Linked DNA regions of Homo sapiens: regions 2 and 3 are each linked to region 1. The links are contacts of gene promoters, found by promoter capture Hi-C in blood cells and fetal thymus (Javierre and others, 2016). All regions are on one chromosome and are shown on one strand. The core of a region is centred on a gene start or on the middle of the fragment in contact, and the rest is flanking DNA. Distances in the headings are between cores, read along the strand shown.

What was found. Contacts are between HindIII fragments. The CHiCAGO score rates a contact against its expected background, and 5 or more counts as called.
Region 2: a fragment that was not itself captured here is called in contact with the fragment with the promoter of PLPP4 in region 1 in 4 of 17 cell types (endothelial precursors, M0 macrophages, M2 macrophages and 1 more); the score reaches 7.6 in endothelial precursors.
Region 3: a fragment that was not itself captured here is called in contact with the fragment with the promoter of PLPP4 in region 1 in 1 of 17 cell types (M0 macrophages); the score reaches 5.6 in M0 macrophages.

Annotation. Positions count from the first base shown.
Region 1 is chr10:120,455,968-120,458,667 of GRCh38, reverse strand. It overlaps PLPP4 (phospholipid phosphatase 4), which reads right to left and starts at 1,441. Exons shown (of 7, transcript NM_001030059.3): 1 at 1,307-1,441. The coding sequence starts at 1,362. The HindIII fragment of the contact is 6,130 bases long and covers 1-2,700 here.
Region 2 is chr10:120,739,119-120,742,002 of GRCh38, reverse strand. The region is part of intron 2 of LINC02930 (long intergenic non-protein coding RNA 2930); the gene reads right to left. Among named protein-coding and RNA genes, the nearest start is that of WDR11-DT, 110 kb to the left of the region's middle. The HindIII fragment of the contact is 668 bases long and covers 943-1,610 here.
Region 3 is chr10:120,864,752-120,867,783 of GRCh38, reverse strand. It overlaps WDR11 (WD repeat domain 11), which reads right to left. Exons shown (of 29, transcript NM_018117.12): 6 at 2,572-2,737; 7 at 2,040-2,154; 8 at 1,020-1,215; 9 at 615-718. Among named protein-coding and RNA genes, the nearest start is that of WDR11, 15 kb to the right of the region's middle. The HindIII fragment of the contact is 1,375 bases long and covers 612-1,986 here.

The DNA of each region.
Region 1 (2,700 bases), core at 192-2,691:
CACCAGTGTTCGGGCAGAAGGCGGGAGAGGGGGGCTTGCTTGCATCTGGGGGAGCTCATGGCCTTTTCTGATGGTGTGAATAAATACTCTGGATGAATTTAATCCCTGCTAAAGAAAAACATGCAAGAAAGGGCATTTCTTTCCATGTGTATCCCCTGGGCTGCCCAGAACAGAAGTCATCTTTGACACAGCACACCTGCCATGGATGACTCCAGATTGAGGCAGAAATTCAAAGAGGGCCTCCTGTTTGGCTCGGGAGGGCTTTTCCAGAAACGAAAACAAAAACAAACAAATAAATAAATGCATGGCAAATCCAAAAAGTTCATGTAACTTTAATACTTAGAATGTGGCAGAAAACATCCATGGGCAGAGAGGGGGAGAGAATTTGGCTCACTGATGGAGGGACCAGTGCAGGTGTGGGTGCCTAGGTGACAGCAGCTCACGGGAGGCTGCGGGGTGGCTCTGAGCTGGTGTTCTGGGCTCAGGTCTGAAAGAGAGATGTGACAGCTCCCTGCAGCTTGGGCCCTGGAAGTCAATGAGCGGTGGGTCCCTGGGCGCACGGAGGAGGCTCAGGCATCTCTGAAAGAACCTGCGCCACCACCCCTTCTTCTTTTCGGGATCGCTGTTCTCAGTGCCAGCCGCTCAAAGCCACCCTGGGCATTTCACGGCTACCCCTGGAGGGCCTCCGCCCCCAAAGCGGACATCGACCGGGCACAGAGCTCCAGGGTGTGTGTATCCCACCCCGGCCTGCAGCCCCTTGACTTCTCAAGCCTCCACAGCAACAGTTTCTCAGTAGGAGAAGCGCCGCAAACGCCCGCTGGGAAAACGCTCGCCAGGACCGCGGGCGCTAAAGCCAGGGACACGGAAGGAGTCTGGCCCTGGGCACAGCGGGGAGGAATCGGAGACGGGGCCAGGGGTAAAGACTTCCAACGTGGGCCTCAAAGATCACACAGAAGGAGAAACTTCCCGAGGGCACGGGCCAGGGTGCGCGTCCCTGTTTAGAGGTGCAGCCCTGGATCCCCCGGGCAGGTGGTGCGGGGCTGGCGACAGGCGCGGGCCCGGTGAGACCCGGGAGCAGGTCTCAGCCTCGGCGCGCGGTGGTCGCTCCGCGCCTAGGGTCCCAGGAAGGAGAGAGGAAGGGTCTCTCTTGGTCCCGTAGGACACGTTGCGGGCACTTGGCGGGGAAGGGACCTCGAACCCAGGCCCCAGTGGGAAGCGGCTGCGCAAACTAAGTTAGGGCACAGAGAGGCTTGGTCGGTTGTTCCCCCGCGTCAGTGCGCCCTGCCCGCGGTGCGCCACTACTTACACGAAGACTCCGAAGAGCAGGGCTCGCACCCCGATCTCAATGGCCAGCTCCCGCATGGTGCGGCCGGAGCAGCTCCCGCGGCGTCAGCTGGTGCTCTCCGCGGCTCCCGCAGCTCGGCCGGCGCCGGCTCGCCAGACCCTGGGAGGCGAGGGAGGCGCGCTCCAGGCCGCGGGCGGGGGCGGAGGCGGGCGCCGGGCGGGGGCAGGCGCCGGGGAGGGCTCAGCCTAAACCTCGCGCCTCGGGCTCCGGGGCTCCGGGAAGCCGCGCCGGCCGCTGGCGATACTGCGGACCCCGCCTCCTAGTGCGGAGCCGGGGCCGCCTCAGGGACTCCCGGATCCCTCTCCCCAGGAGCCGCCTCCGCCTCCTGGGCCCGCGCCGGGCACCCGCGGACCGGGGAGGGGAAGCCCGGGGAAGCCCCACCGCCGCCGCCGCCTCCCTGCGCGCTCCCCGCCTCCCCCGCCAGTGGGCGGCCCCTGGGCTCCGCGCCAGGGCAGCGCGCTCGCTGGGGCTCTGCCCGCGGCCCCTCTGCAGCTCCTGGTCCTGCCTCCGACTCCCGCTGTCCGGGCTCTCGCTCCCTGGCACACGCACGCACGTGGGCATGTAGTGGACGATCGCTCTGGGGATTCTCCAGGGCTCAGGGCAGCCCTGGCCAACCTTGCTCCCGTGTTCGGCCCTCCCTACACCGTTCGAACCTGAAATTCTTTCTTTTTTCTAGGAAGTTCCCCAGAGATCACTCGCGGGCTTCGCTTTGCTCTCAGGAGATGCCAGCCAGGGTCCAGGGCTCCGGCACAGAGAGAGGGCAAAGGCAAGCCTGGCTCCCCGCCATGCCACCAGCGCCAGGTGGCCCCTGGGGACCGAATCCTCTCTCCCCCACCACCTGTCCTCCGCCCCCAGCAGCTTGGGGCTGCTGAACTGTGGAATATGAAAAAGCTCCTGCCACCGTCCCTGGCCTGGCCGGTGTGTGGGAAGTCAGGGTCGCTCGTCGCTGACACAGCATTCAACCAGCCGTCAGCCAGGCAGCAGGTAGAACCCAGAGCCTCATCCTCAGGTTAAGAGCCAAAAGCCCAACCCTCGCAGCCTAGGGGTCACGACCTCCAGCTGGAGCCCAGCAGGAGCTTGGATTTGCTTTTCCCAAACCGGTCAGAATTTTATTTACTTTTCTTAGAATTTTGACTTCTTGGCTTCACTAATTTAAACCAAGCAGACATTTAAAATGCAAAACACACAGTGATTATAACCATTAGGTTGTTCCTGGGGAGCCCAGGCCTCTCTTGGATTTTAGGAGAGACCCAGCCAAAATTGTGTGAGCAGAGGACACGGATTAGAAGGTGGTTCCTGGGACTAAGGAGCTATGGCTCAGTCCTGGATAAAAGGGGGAGCAGGTAGAAAGAACT
Region 2 (2,884 bases), core at 27-2,526, 280 kb before region 1:
AATTTCCCCATCAGTCATTTGAATACCATTATTGAGACCTTCCATTTCTACCCTGTGCATTACTGCTCTGAACGAATTCTTCTCTACTGCGGAAGACAGAGGGAACCATAGTTTAATGAGAGCCCCAAATTTTGATATCAGTAACCCTTCTTTGAGTCTCATTTCCCTTAGGGAAAGAGTCTGAAGGTACAGAACTTGCTTTTTGATAATGATAACAAGTTGGGAGGAAGATTCTAGCTCAAAATGACAGGATGATGTGCATGTTTGCTGGAGAGAAATGCCTTTATGCACAGCCCCTGAAGGGAGGGACAGACAGGCAGGCTCACTCAGGAGCTGATACCTGGTGTGATCACTGCCTCCGTGCTGATTCCCCCTGCTGCCTGAGCAGGCTGGGTCCTGCCACCGCACAGCATGTCTTTAAACAAACATTTGCACACGGCGCCATTGCCCTCAGAATCGACTTGGAAATTCATGAGAGTCCTAAGTGCCAACTGTGGCACACAAACTCCAAGCTGCTTTGTTGGAAAGGGAAGTTCATAGAACAAGATAAAAACAGAATGGGGATAATTTTTAAACTTCTTTCTCATCTACAGAAAACTTACAACCTTCACAATGATGTAAAAGTGTAATTTTTTCTTTGGGAGACATGGACTTTGAACATGGGTTTGAATCCTGGCTCTTCCTTTATTAGCTTATGACCTTGGACACATTTCTAACTTCTCTGTGGGTCTGTTTCCTCATCTTTACCTTGTAGGACTTTTGTGAAAATTAAATGGGATAAAGTTCACAATATGCCTAGCCAGGAGTCTGGCACAGAGAAGGTGATCAATGACCATTATTACTATAGGCCCTTAAAAATCAGTTATATTAAAATGAATAACTTGAATAACTTCTTGGCCCATAAGTGCTAACTATAAAAATGGTAATTTTTCCCCTTAAGCTTTCGTTTCTACCTGCCAGAATCTAGACCAGAGCATCAGGAAGAGGTAGTGGCTATGACGTAAAGTAAGTGTCTTATATTATGTTGAAATACTAATATAAACCATGTGCCCTTACTTTCCCACAAAAGGGCAAACTTCTCATTTATAGTCCAACAAGATAATTTAGTATCTGGCAGCAAGAGGCACATTCCACCCCTGAACATGATGGTTTGCCTTTACAAACATGATCTGATTTCCAAATTGGGGCAGAGGGAGCAAGACATGATAGCAGCTTTCAATTTTAAATAATACTTCTTTCTCTAAAAAATTTTTTTGTAAAGTTGGTTCTATGTTTCCCAGGTTGATCTCAAATTCTCAGCATCAAGCTATCCTCCTATCTCAGCCTCCCAAAGTTCTGGGATTACAGGCATGAGCCACCATGTATGGCCTTAAATAATATTTCCTAGCTAATAGGAAATTTTTTAGTGTATATAAAAGTTCCTAGGAATCATAAAAAAAGGACAAAACACCAAATTTAAAAATGGGCCAAAGACTTTCACAAGTATCTCATGAAAGAAGATATCAGATGGCTAAAAAGCATATAAACATGCTCAATAGCATTACTTAATAGGAAAAATAAATTAAAATCTCAACCAGATAGAACTACACACCCACCAGAATGGTTAAGCTTACAAAGACAATATCAGATGCTGACAAGGATGTGGACCAACTGGAACATTTGCACACATTGCTGACGGGAGTGTAATTTGGTCTGATCACTGTAGAAAATTGTTTGACGTTTGACACTAAAGCTAAACATTACTTATTACTCAGCTATCCCATTCCTAAGTATAGGCCTACGAGAAGTGAATGTATATGATGACAAACATCAGTTCACGGAATCATGCACATGCTAAAAGTCATTGAGTTGTACACTTAAGAAAGCACGATGGCTCACATCTGTAATCCTAGCACTTTGGGAGGCTGAGGCGGGCGGATCACTTGAGGTCAGGAATTTGAAACCAGCCTGGCCAACAAACCCTGTCTCTACGAAAAATACAAAAAGTTAGCCAGGCATGGTGGGAGGTGCCTGTAATCCCAGCTACTTGGGAGGCTAAGGCAGGAGAATTGCTTGAACCCAGCAGGCAGAGGTTGCAGTGAGCCAAGATTGCACCACTGCACTCCAGCCTGGGCTACAGAGCGAGACTCTGTCTCAAAACAAACAAACAAACAAACAAACAAAACAAACAAAAAGAATGGTATAACTTACTTCATGTAGGTTATACCCTGCCTGATTAAAATAAAAAGAGGTGAAGGGAGGTGTCTTTCCATGAGGAAAGACGGAATGACATGGAAAATGTTCAGGCAGAGTATGGGTAACTATCAGGAATGGTTCACAGAAGACTGCATTAGGATGAAAGGATCCACATTGGGCTCCTCACCTTGGTAAAATCTGTAGAGATCATTTAGATTAGAAATGTGCTTCCATGCTGGGCAGTTTGTAATACAGAACTCTAGAGAGAGGAAAATGGAGTCAGAGATTTCTGTCTTGTAATGGTCTAAAACAGGACTTTTTAACAAGGCACTAGATTTTAAATCTGTTTTCACACTCATTGCTTTTACCTCAGTGGAAGGTGCTTATATGAGGGGACCCCTTTGGCACCTGTCATGATCCCATGAGTCCTGCCTACAGGGATGTTATTTCTGCATCCCAGTTGAGACTGTCCAACCTCTCCAAATAAGGAGCAGGACAGTATGGTGGTTACGAGCAGGGCGGGTTGTGATCTTGAACAGAAGCATAGTTGTTAAGAGGGCAGAGCTGACATTGACTCCCTGGGTTGAAATCCTCTTTGTCCTAGAACAAGTTATTCAACCCTTCTAAGTTTTATATGTCAAATGGGAATAGTGGATTACATGAAATAATACACACCAGGGCCAGGCATACAGTAAGTACCTAGGGGCAA
Region 3 (3,032 bases), core at 50-2,549, 410 kb before region 1:
TTACTACAAAACAGGCATGCACAAGGTACTGTGCTGAGTGCTGGGAAAGACAAAATAGAATCAAACACTGTACCACCCTTGTGATGCTTACAATTGATGAGATGAAACAGAAGAAAAAAACCCACAATTAAAATATGCTGATAACTGTTAGGAAAAACAAAAGAAGAGCATTTAAATTAGACTTGGGAGATTAAAGAAAACAACATCTGAGTTGAATTTTGAATTAGGAGTAGCAGACAGAAAGGAAGCATGTACTTCATTCCAAGCTGAGGAACCAGCAAACAGCAAGGCCCTGAGTTGGCATGGCATAGCTCAGCATCGGCTCTAGGTCCAAAATCCAGATGCCTAATGTCATTGCTTTCATTTACATCAGTCTCTCACGAATGAACGTTTTCTATTTCTAACAACTATAATGCAAACCCGTGCTACTTCAGGCACTTTTCTACCTAAGTATTTTAAACCCCTCTGATTTATTTAGGAAAGAATGATTCCATGTTCTAGTTTTCTCAAGTATTAACTTTTTTGACTTTAAAATAATTACAAGTGAGTGATTCTATTAATTTTGCCCTTCAGAAAGAATACTTAACATGGAGTTAGAGGGGAAAAAAGCTTACCAATCATGTTATCTAAGGAAAGGTCTGGGAGTTTATTCTGTAGCACTCCTACAGGAATTCCACAGAAAGACACTGGTGAATATAAAGGTGACACACCAGAACTACTGCAAAGACATAATAATTAGAAGGTTTTACATACTTAAAATCTGCATTACGTATTAGGAATTCAAAGTATTAAGTCCAGATTATGGCATTCTATCTATTTTTATATTATTCATTCATCTTACCCATAGGTGAAATAGCTCTAGCAGATTTACATAATTCCCTAATAATCTAAAGCCTTAATTATTACCTTAAAAATATTTTTATAGAAAACCAGCCCTCCTATTTTTATGATTATGGAAATTTTTTATAAAAGGAAACAGGAAACAAAAAACAAAACCATGATCCTGTTGATTCATTTACCTGTTCCGTGAATTTCGATTACAAACTGCAGACTTGAGTTCCCATATCATGACCCTGCCATCACTCACTACGAGGGCGGCTGCATTCTCATTGACAGGACAGCACACCATACTGAAGGGACGGACGGTTTTTGTCACCCTGATTGCATCACACTGGCTTCGTAAATCATAGGTAAGCTCCTGAACTGGATCTGGATCTTCACATAAAATTGTTTTAAATATCAGAAAGCAGCCATATCGATACCACTACTGTTTGTTTCAATTTAAATAAAACCTCAACTAAATTTGGGCATCACTCCTTCATGAATGCAATGTCAAGCATGGCTTCACTTTTTACAATTACTACTAAATTTTTTCCAAATATAATTTACTTAATGACTGTACTAAGTTTAATTTCCAAAATAACAACTATAATCAAGATATCTTTTTTCAATATTTTAAAATAAAGACGATACTTTGAAAAAGGATCAACAGTGATATATAATTAATGAATAAATTTCCATCATAATTTGTAGTAGTCTATAAGCCTGAAAATAACTGTACTTTCCAAAAGATGTGAAAATCACTTTGATCTTTACACAGTATATAATTTCACAAAAACATTATTTCCATTCTCCAAGATAAGACTGACTTGACAACTGAGACTTAATAACCTCTGTCACTTTACAATGGAAGTTCTTACAGCCAACAAGTCAAGGGGGTATAATAATAAAGGCACACAAGGTTGGACTTGTACTGAAAAAAAAAAAAAATTCCAAAAAATAATATCTACTTGGCTCATGGATATGATCAAGAAACACAAAATTTTACTCTCTTTGATGTATACAGGAGGTGCACTGTTTTAACATCAAGAGATTAATCTTGGGCTTATACTTTTTATGCCTCTTATTATAACCATATTTTAAACTTCCTCAAAGCAAGGAGTATCATTAACTATATACCTTGGCTGGTATTTGCCACATCAAGCTTTATAAAATAATTTTGAAGAAAAATATAACATTATTGTGAGACAGAAACTCACCTGGTTCCTCATTTGAAGTGGTAAAAATGTTATTATAAGATCTTCGAACACGTAAAGTTATACAACCATTTTCATGTAGACAAAATAAACCATCACGCTGAAAGCAGGGTATTACCTTTAAATAGATGATATATTTATTTTTTAAAACACAATAGATTAATAAAGTATATACTGTGAAACTCAAACTCATATTTAGATAATATGGGCAAAAGAAAAAAAAATAGACAAATCCCAAACTTTAAAACTAAATGTACATTTAAAATATCCATTTATAATCCTAAAATAATTTGTCTTTACCCATGTGACTTAAATAGTTCAATAAATATCTCAGGATCAGTCACAATTTCTAGGGTAAATCAAACCAATCAAAAGTGCAGACAAAAAAAACAATCTAAAATAGTGTTGCTAGTCTTTTGATAAATTGAAAAGAGAAAGTGGAGAACTGAAGACAAGACTTATGCAAGATTATGGCCTTCTTTTAATATAACATTCTTAATAATTTTGGGGAATATAATTTATGAATTGTAGATACCTGTAAAAATGGAACTCCTGTGCGTTCTATTGCAATCACACCCACCGTCTGATTCACCTCAAGGTCAAGGATTAAAATCTCTCGAGGATAGAGCAACAACATGTGATTCCTTTTTGAAGGCAGGTATGCCAACTGAAGGCAATCATTGAGAGTTATGAATTCAGCACTGAAAAAAGTAAACATTCACTTGGGTCAAAGACTTCATTTATATCAGACCTAATAAAAGATTTAATTTTGTACTTTACACATAAAAATTGACAATAAAAATGTACAACTATTCCCTGAAGTGACCAACATGGGTTGGCATCCAAAACTTAGATCTCTACTATGTACCAAAATCCAAATGCTAATAATATTGTATAGGATGGGTAGAAATGTCAGTGTTTCTAAGTTTTTGAAATATTAAGTAGTAGAATATTAAGTTATTAATATTACACAAGACATGGTAAATGATAATATAA